Linked DNA regions of Homo sapiens: region 2 is linked to region 1. Evidence: promoter capture Hi-C in 16 types of primary human blood cells and fetal thymus (Javierre and others, 2016). All regions are on one chromosome and are shown on one strand. Each heading gives the region's core, a stretch centred on a gene start or on the middle of the fragment in contact. The rest is flanking DNA. Distances are from core to core; before and after follow the strand shown. Region 1 holds the start of SPATA4 (spermatogenesis associated 4). Region 2 holds the start of NEIL3 (nei like DNA glycosylase 3).

The links. Contacts are between HindIII fragments. The CHiCAGO score rates a contact against its expected background, and 5 or more counts as called.
Region 2: the fragment with the promoter of NEIL3 here is called in contact with the fragment with the promoter of SPATA4 in region 1 in 8 of 17 cell types (non-activated CD4 T cells, naive CD8 T cells, naive CD4 T cells and 5 more); the score reaches 15.2 in non-activated CD4 T cells.

The regions. Positions count from the first base shown.
Region 1 is chr4:176,193,673-176,198,707 of GRCh38, forward strand. It overlaps SPATA4 (spermatogenesis associated 4), which reads right to left and starts at 1,913. Exons shown (of 6, transcript NM_144644.4): 1 at 1,673-1,913. The coding sequence starts at 1,890. The HindIII fragment of the contact is 1,203 bases long and covers 1,403-2,605 here.
Region 2 is chr4:177,308,127-177,312,659 of GRCh38, forward strand. NEIL3 (nei like DNA glycosylase 3) reads left to right here and starts at 1,748. Exons shown (of 10, transcript NM_018248.3): 1 at 1,748-1,983. The coding sequence starts at 1,828. RefSeq lists a silencer at 1,629-1,748 and an enhancer at 1,829-1,918. The HindIII fragment of the contact is 15,817 bases long and covers 1-2,366 here.

The DNA of each region.
Region 1 (5,035 bases), core at 663-3,162:
CTAAAAGTATCTTGTAAAGTGAGTGTTGTTGGATCGTTGCTCTAAGGAGAACCTACTGTGGAATTTTGCTAAGATTATCTACGTTTCAAAGGCTTTGGTGTTCTTTTGATGAACCCAAACTGTTAATTTGTATTGAATCCGCATTTCAAGAAGATCCCCAGGTGATTCATATGCACTTTAAAATTTCAGAGGCATGGTTGTAAGTAATACTGAAGACAAATTAGTAAACTAGTCCCCCGCTTATCTGCAGTTTTGCTTTCTGCAGTTTCAGTTACCTTGGGTCAATCACAGTCGGAAAATATTAAATGGAAAATTCAAGAAATAATTTGTAACTTTTAAATTGTACTCTGTTCTGGGCAGTCTGATGAAACCTCCCTGCCTGCTCTGTGTTGCCTAGGATGTGAGTCCTCCCTTTGTCCAGAGTCTCCACGTTGTAGACATCAGTCACCTTTTAGTCATCAGATCAACTGTACAGTGTGGTGCGCTTGTGTGCAAAGTGCAAGAGCAGTGATGCTGGTGATTCAGATATGCCAGAGAGAAACCATAAAATTATTCCTTTAGGTGAAAAGATGAAAGTTCTTGACTTAATAGAAAGTTGTAAGAATGGTTACAATGGTAGGAATGAATCATATTCCTGAAATATGAAGAAAAAGAAATTCTTGATAGTTTCGGCATCACACCTCAAACTGAAAAACTTTCAGCCACAGTGTGTGATAAGTGCTTAGTTAAGATTTTTAAAAAGGCATTAAATTTGTGGATGGAAGACATAAACAGAAATGTGTTCTGACAGAGGGTTCTGTAGTATCCACAGTTGCCATCCACTGGGGATCTTGGAACCTATGCCTCTCTGATAAGGAGAGACTACTTTAAACCAGAGTTCTGCAAAAGATTCATTGCCTTTTTATAGAATTTAGTTTGCATTCCCAGAGCAAATATTAGCTGCCAGTTACATACAAAGTGCCTACAATTAAGCAGCAACTTTAAAAACTTGTTGGTAACTCTCAAACTAGATGCCATCTCCGACAAAGGGTAAACTGATCCTTACCAGTATTTTTTTTTTTTTTTTTTTTTTTTTTTTTTGAGACAGAGTCTTACCCTGCCACCTAGGCTGGAGTGCAGCGGCATAATCTCGACTCACAGCAACCTCCGCCTCCCGGGTTCAAGCATTCTCCTGCCTGCAGCCTCCCCAGTAGCTGGGATTACAGGCACCCGCCACCACACTGGGCTAATTTTTTGTATTTTTTAGTAGAGACGGGGTTTCACCGTGTTGGTCAGGCTGTTACTCAACTCCTGACCTCAGGTGATCCGCCTGCCTCGGCTCCCAAAATGCTGGGATTACAGGCATGAGCAACTGTGCCCGGCCGTCCTTACCAGTATTAATGCCCAATATCACTAAAGAAAAAGCTTTGACTATTTTAATATTTTTGTAGTCACCAAAGCATTCTATATTGTCCACAATTTAATGATTGGTTGATTAATTGAATAAACAAGATGTATCGTGGTATTTTGTTAAAGCCTTGTTCCCTAATAGTGTTTTCGTGTGTGTACGTGGGTGGGGGGGTCTTGATTTGAAACATAAGCCAGGCCAGGGTAGGCAATCTGAGGCCTGGCAGGCGGCGGAAAGCAGGCGGGGCGCCCACCGGGGGGGCCTAGGACTGGCTTACTCAAGCACCTGTTGATGTTCCTGGGGAAGAAGCTGAGATCCAGACCCTGAAGCCAACGCAGAACGGAACGAGACAAGCGGGAGCTCTTCGGCGCATGCGGATAGACCAGACACTTCTTAGGCCTCCCTCGGATGGGAGCTGCTAGCTGTGGCGAAAGTGACGGTGACTTGTCTAGGGCTGCCGCAGTCTGTGTCAAATACCCTTTTTCCTGGCCGGCGGCAGCCATGACGCTTTCTGGGTTGCTGCGGCAACAGCAGAAGGCGGGGCTGGGCCTTATTGCTGGCGGCGCGGTCTCGTGGGGCGGGGCGGAGTCTTATGGGGCGAGACCTCAGCGCCTGCGCAAGCGCCGCAGCAGCCGCCCGTACTTCCGCTTTACTCAGATTTTGGACCGCGGGGCCGGGTATCGAGGGAGGCAAAGCTGGGGTCCCAGTGGTGTGGCTGCGGTCTGGGGAGCGCTTTCAGTCTCAGATTTAGTTGGCCTCACTGTTAACCTATTTAGAGCTTTTTTTTTCTTATGTCATCGTTCATAAGTTTTGTATTTTAAATATTGTTGGTTTCTGCCCAGCCAAAGGCCTATTTTCAGTCGTCTAGTTTGAGGAGTGGTGTGAGAAGACTCCAGAGGCCAAGGACAGTTTTTGTTTGGGAATTGGAAGAGATGGGGGAAAAAAATCTTTGAAATGGAAATGAATGTCCACAAAATTTAACATAACTATTTCCTTAATTATTGCATTAAGTATTTGTAAACATTAATATTTGAAAACGATGTGTAGGTTAGATTTTCACACTTAATTAAAATCTCCTAGTAGGCATAATTCCTTCATTAATTCAACAAATATGTATTGAGTCCATATTATGTGCCACGCATTCATCTAGTCACTTGGGATCTATCTGAACACAATGAAAACAACTGCAAAGTTGGCATAGGCAATTATAAATATGTAAGCTTAATTATTAAAATCCATTAAAAATTTTTACAGCCACAGTTTTTTGTTTTTTGTTTTTTGTTTTTTGTTTTTTTTTGCTTGGCAGGGCACAGTGGGTCATGCCTGTAATCCCAGCACTTTGGGTGGTGGAGGCGGGAGGATCGTTTGAGCTCAGGAGTTCAAGACCAGCCTGGGCAACACAAGGTGGAGAGACTTTCGCTACAAAACAAACAAACAAACAAAATAGCTGGGTGTGGTGGTGCACACCTGTACTCTCAAGTACTCCAGATGCTGAGGTGGGAGGATTGCTTGAGCTCAGGAACTTGAGGCTGCAGAGAGCCAGGTGACAGGCCCTGTGGATACATACACATGGTAAAATATGGGATAGATCTTGATAATGATACTATGTAATATTTTTAATGTTTATTCATATACATGCTTATTAATAAAGTAAACCAGTGTATTCTGTATGTGGTTAAAAAAGAAAACCAAAACTGAAGCTATGTAAGTGTTTTCTGTTAGGCTAAAAAAGTTTTAATGAATGATTCATTCATTCTGTAAACCTTTTCTGAGGAACTATCCTGGAGTATGTGCTAGATCTTTACCATCCAATATGGTAGCCACTAGCCACATGTGGCTATTTAAACTTAAATTTAAATAAACTCAGTTCCACTGGCTACATTTTACCTGCTCAATAGCCATATGTAGCTAGTGGCTGCCATGTTGGGTAGGACAGACACAGCACTGTTCCATCACTACAGGAATTTCGATTGGACAGCTCTGTGCGGCAGATCATTTATAAGAGATTCAGAGATAGAAATATCAGTGAAAAGATTACATACACTGAAAAGCTCTGCCATGGTAAAAATATGTTAGCACCAGAAAGGAAGCAAATACTTTGGCCTGGGAGAGTGTAAGAAGTCCTCTCAAAAGAGATGACCATTAATTTGGATCTTAGAAGGTGGTATTTTAAGCTGATTTTTAAGATGAAAGCTTTGAATAGCCATTTCTACTGTGAAAGGAAATTAAATCTTGGGACCCCCCCCACCTCCCCCAAATCACTAAGCTAAAGGGAAAAGTCAAAGTGGGAACTGCTTAGGGCAAACCTGCCTCCTATTCTATTCAAAGTCACCGCTTAGCTCACTGAGCTAAATGCATACCTGATTGCCTACTCTGGAAAGGCTCATCAGAAACTCAACAGAATGCAACCATTTGTCTCCCATCTACCTATGACCTGGAAGCCCCCTCCCTGCTTGAGTTGTCCTGCCTTTGCTTCTAGTTGTCCCACCTTTTCCAGACCAAATCAATGTTCATCTTCCACATGTCGACTGAAGTCTCATGTCTCCCTAAAATGTATAAAACCAAACTGCCCTGACCACCTTGGGCACATGTCAGGACCTCCTAAGGCTGTGTCACGGGTGCTCATCCTCAACCTTGGCAAAATAAACTTTCTAAATTAACTGAGACCTGTCTCAGAGTTTCTGGGTTCACACTACCTTTTATTAGCTATATGACTTTGGGCAAGTTATTTAACATTTGTATTTGTAAAATATGGAAATAAATAGGATACACCACAGAGCTGTAGAGATTAAATAAGTGAAATCTATAAAGAGCCTAAAACAATGTGCAGCACGTAGTGCTCAGTAAGCATAGATGATTGCTTCAAAGGTGATCTTGGAAATTTATTTGGATGATGAAGGGGCAATCTCACACAGAGTGACTAATGGGAGCAATTGCATAGAAATATGAGGGGTTTTTTAAATGAGTTTTAGGAAAGAACAGAACCCATTAGGGTTAGAGAAAGTGTTTAGGCATTATCAACCAAAGAGACATTGTCAACCAAAGGTTTAGATGATAATGGCTAGAGAGGTAGGTTAGATCTATAGGTTAGGGTTTATTTGTTTTTGTTTTTGAGACAGAGTCATGCTGTTGCGCAGGCTGGAGTGCGGTGGCGTGCTCAGGGCTCACTGCAGCCTTGACCTCCTGGACTCAAGTGAACCTCCCACCCCAGCCTCTCATCTCAGCCTCCCAAGTAGCTGGGACTACAGGTGCAAACCACAATGATTGGTCAGTTTTTAAATTTTTTATAAAGACGGGTCTTGAACTTGTGGGCTTGAGGAATCAATCCTCCAGCCTTGGCCTTCCAAAGTGCAGCAATTACAGGCATGAGCCACCACGCCCAGCTAGATTGGGGCTTAATTGTAAACAGTTTTGCTAAAGAGTTGGAAATCTTCCTGTAATCAGTGTGCCAATTGTTAAGCAAATACATCCCTGTTAGAAACACTCCCTTCTCTGTTCTCAGTTCTGTGATGCCGGAGTTGGAACGCTGCGGCATTTTCTCCTTTGCTGGGTGGATGGTAAATTCTGCCAATATGGGGAGTGAGAGAGTGGCCAGGAGGTGGGGAGCAGGGATTTGCTATTTCTCTGCTTGCTGTTCAAGCCCCTGTG
Region 2 (4,533 bases), core at 498-2,997, 1.1 Mb after region 1:
TAAACTAAGTAATAAAGGGTGACTAAGTAATAAAGGGCATTGCAGCTTTCTCCTTGACTTCTCTCTTGGATCACACTCTCAGCTGCCATGTCATTAGAAGAGCCGAGCTGCACTATAGAGACACAAGAGGTGAGAAACTGAGGCCTCCTGCCAACAGCCATGCAAGTGACTCATCTCGGAAGTGGATCTTTTAGCTACAAAAAGCCTTTGGGGCACTTTAGCCTTGGCTAATATTTTAACTGTAACCTCTTGAGAAATGCTGAGCCAGGATGACTCTGGCTAGCTAGACTATTGCCAAATTCCTGACCCACAGAAACTTTGAAATAACAAATGGGATAATTGATGAGGTAACAATAAATAACTAGTACAACGCTGAAAGAGGAGAAGGTATATAGGACTTTTCTCCATCAAAGGACAGAGATTATTGAATTGAACAAGGGAGTAAAGTACAAATAGTCCTGAAATTGATCCAGCCAACTTTTGATCACTAATCTCTCCCTGCAAAGGAAAGATTTAATACTTTTCAAAATTTCAATCAAGTCTTCAGTATATTCAAATTCAACTCTCTAGTATACAGATGCTCCTCAACTTACGATGGGGTTATGTCCTGATAAACCCGTTGTAAACTGAAAATACAGTAAGTCGAAAATGCCTTTAATATATCTAACCTACCAAACATCATAGCTTCACGAGGCCCTCCTTAAATGTGTTCAGAACACTTACATTAGCCTACAGTTGGGAAAAATCACCTAACACAAAGCATATTTTATAATAAAGTGTTGAATAATTTATTGACTACTGTACTGAAAATGAAAAACAGAATGGCTATATGAGTACTCAAAGTACAGTTTCTACTGTGTGTCACTTTTGCACCATCATACAGTCAAAACACTGTTACGCTGGGGCATCCTAAGTCAGCAACCACCTGTGTATATGCTCTTGTGGTTTAACGGCAGCACAGTGCTATGCTTATGAAATCACTTAGAAATTGACATTCTGTTTTAATGTGTAGTATTTCAGTTTTCAAAAAAGAATACACTTTATAATTTACAAAACTATATGGAGTCATAAACTTCATAGATTTATATGTATGCATGCATCTTTGGTTAGGGTTGTGGGTAAATTTGAAAAGCTACGCATTACCCTCAAATTTATATAAACCTCTACGTTTAACAAAGCAATTTCATATAGCTTTCATCTTGGGGCGTCCCCTTACAAAATGGATGCATGCACTTAGGTAGGGCTCACTTAACTATCTAATAATGGAGTTTTTAAATATAGACACTAGAATATATTCTGCTGTTTGTTCCAAAAACCCTCTTCTTCGTTTCTCTTATCCCACCCACGTCCGAATATAGCATGCCAAAAACAGAGCCAAAAACAAGATTGTCTGTGACATATCTGTCCTGTCACAGACAAGGACAGATTAAGAGGACCAGATCAGAAAATGTGTGTATACTAAGTAGCTCAAAGACAAGGGCAAAACTTTAACGCAAAGAAAATACATTCAGAGCTTTCCAAGTCCCAATTTCTTCTGCTTTTACAGTTCAGCCTAGTTAGTTGTCCTCCACGCCCCCCGCCCCACGCGCGTTTGCGTTTTCTTAATAAACCCACAGCAAGACCTAGGGCGGGGGTGAACCACAGCGCATGCGCCGTAGGGAGCGACCTCAACAGCTAGGGTGCTGTTTGGGCGGGGCCTGGGCGGGGCCAGACGCGCGCGAGATTTGAATTTCCTCTGCGTGCGGTCAGTGCCCGCGCAGCGTTGAGTTGCACAGCGGTATTCTCACCAGGCCCTGCAATCGGTGGGCCACAGTGCCGGCCACAGAGATGGTGGAAGGACCAGGCTGTACTCTGAATGGAGAGAAGATTCGCGCGCGGGTGCTCCCGGGCCAGGCGGTGACCGGCGTGCGGGGAAGCGCTCTGCGGAGTCTGCAGGGCCGCGCCTTGCGGCTCGCAGCCTCCACGGTTGTGGTCTCCCCGCAGGTGAGCTACTCCTGTAACAGGCCATGCAGTCAGCAGGGGGGAAATGGAATAAAGACCCCATCAGGGTTCCAGGATTTAAAGTGTCATCTCTTTGCTCTGGCCCAGGTTTCCTGGGGTCCCACCTTTCACAGAGTTTATCGTCACTTTACTGTAGGGAGAAGTCGGTCCTAGCGCGCCTGCGCAGGAGAGGAGGGCTAGCGTTCTGGGCTCACGCTGCCGGAGCAAGATGCCCTAGGGGAATCCAGTGAAGGTGTTTTATCCGAGTCACCTTACTTAACTTCTTTATGATACACACATGGTTTCCCATGTCTACAGCTGCATTTTTTACTATTGATATTATCAAATCTCTGCTACCTCTGATATGTTTTCTTCGTCCCATTTTAAGCTTTTAGCATAAAATTCTACTTTCTTGCTTGGCTAATCTGCAATTGGTAAGTATATCACAACTAGTATATAATTCTAAAACTACACGTAGAAAATTTAGCACTAACTTCTCACTCAACTTCATATTGCCATCTAATTAAGGGGCAATGAAACCCAGTTCTGGTTCCCTTAAGTGAATTTATTTCTTTTTAAAGTAAACTAGCACAGCTTCTTGCCACTCAGGCATTCATTGCAGACGATGTGGTATTCATTTGGCCAGAACTTGTACTAAAAATATTCTGATTAAGGCATCATGTTTTAAAAGCCCTCTAGATGTATGGATGATTGTATTTCATGCCTACATGCAATATTGCACTGTATTTCAATTTCTTCTGCAAAGCTTCTTATAGCCTTTGGTCCTGGAAGAAAAAGTTGCCTGCTATGAAATTAGCATATGCTTACAACTTGAAAGAAATGAGGTTCTAAGTCTAAGAAAATATATTTTCAAACTTGGGAAAAAATAAGTTTTACATCTCCTTCCAATTGCCCTTTTGTTTATTTTGACTTGATATGCCAGTAAGTACTCTGTACCTATTTTTTTTTATTATTGTTATAGTGTTTCTAAAATCGTTTCAGGGTACCACAGAGATGGATTTTAGATGGTTTCTTAAGAATATTAATATTTATGAAAATTACTCATTCAATAAAATTTTGAATACTCAAGACACCTGGGGAGCAAAAACAAATACTTCCTCTTTTGGAGCCTATACTTCAGTTGGGAAGACACAAAGACATTCATTAAATAATCACCTAAAGAAATATAAATTAATAAGTTCTGTGAAGGAGAGATACACGATTCTTTAAGGACTTGTAGGAAGACCTGGGAAGGCTTCCCCAGGGAAGTAGCAAAGCTGAGGTGTGGGCCGGGTGCAGTGGCTCATGCCTGTAATCCCAGCACTTTGGGATGCTGAGGTGGGCAGATCGCCTGAGGTTGGGAGTTCAACACCAGCCTGACCAATATGGAGAAATTCCATCCCTACAAAAATAAAAAATTAGTCAGGCATGCTGGTGCATGCCTGTAATCCCAGCTACTCAGGAGGCTGAGGCAGGAGAATCGCTTGAATCCAGGAGGTGGAGGTTGCAGTGAGCTGAGGTCGCGTTATTGCACCCCAGCCTGGGCAACAAGAGCGAAACTCTGTCTCAAAAAAAAAAAAAAAAAAAAAGCTGAGGTGTGCAGGGTGAGTAGAAGCCATGCAGCTCAGGGATTGGAACAGGAAAAAGACTGAAAGAAAGCCAGAGTAGACACTGCCCTCTCATTTAGGAGTCGACTGCAGAAATCCAGGTGACAAATTTGGGGTCAAGTGCTGGTGGTGGAGATGAAGACAAGAGAATCACTATGATGGGAGGGCTAAGCAATGGATATGACATGAATATACTTAGGGATATCATCATTTACATCATTCAACCACAACGTATTTTGTGTTAGGTTTTATGCTAGCTCCTGCGGATACGAAGATGAGTAGGATATGCTTTCTGCTGTGAGAGTCCAACCTAATGTTTTAAATAAATATCACCTCATTGGTATTTAGGAAAAATAGCTTAAACATTTCCTTTTAAGTTTTGTTGTGATTATCTCTGATGGTATGGCATGAGATGCTTTTACATTTCATTCAGTCATGAAAAAGGATAACCCTATGATAAAGGATTAACCTGATTCTACAGATGAGGCATATGAGGCTCAGAGTGACTTTAAGTAAATTTGCCCAAGATCACATGTCTAGTAAGGGGCTAAACCAGGGTTTGATTTTTCTTTAAAACTCCAAAGCCTACCCTCTTAACCATGCCATAGCTCCTCTCAGCCATAAAAGATTCAGTAGGATCTTTATTGCTTTTTTAGCATACAACGGTAAGAACACCATAATGCTCAGTATATAGTAGTGGTTATTTATTAAATAGAAAAGTGCAATCTTGGATTTTTGGCTGTGTCTACCACCATTTTTAGTTTTGTTCGGTTGAGTCAATTCTCTTATATCTATTCTGATAATTCTCTTCTAACAGCTTCTATGGCCATGTTTGGATTGCACAAAAGAGTGCAGCCTGATAATATAATACAAATGCGTCAGTAATGGTTAGGCAATTATTAACATCACTTGGCAGCAATATTCAATAAGTTATACCCCACACATA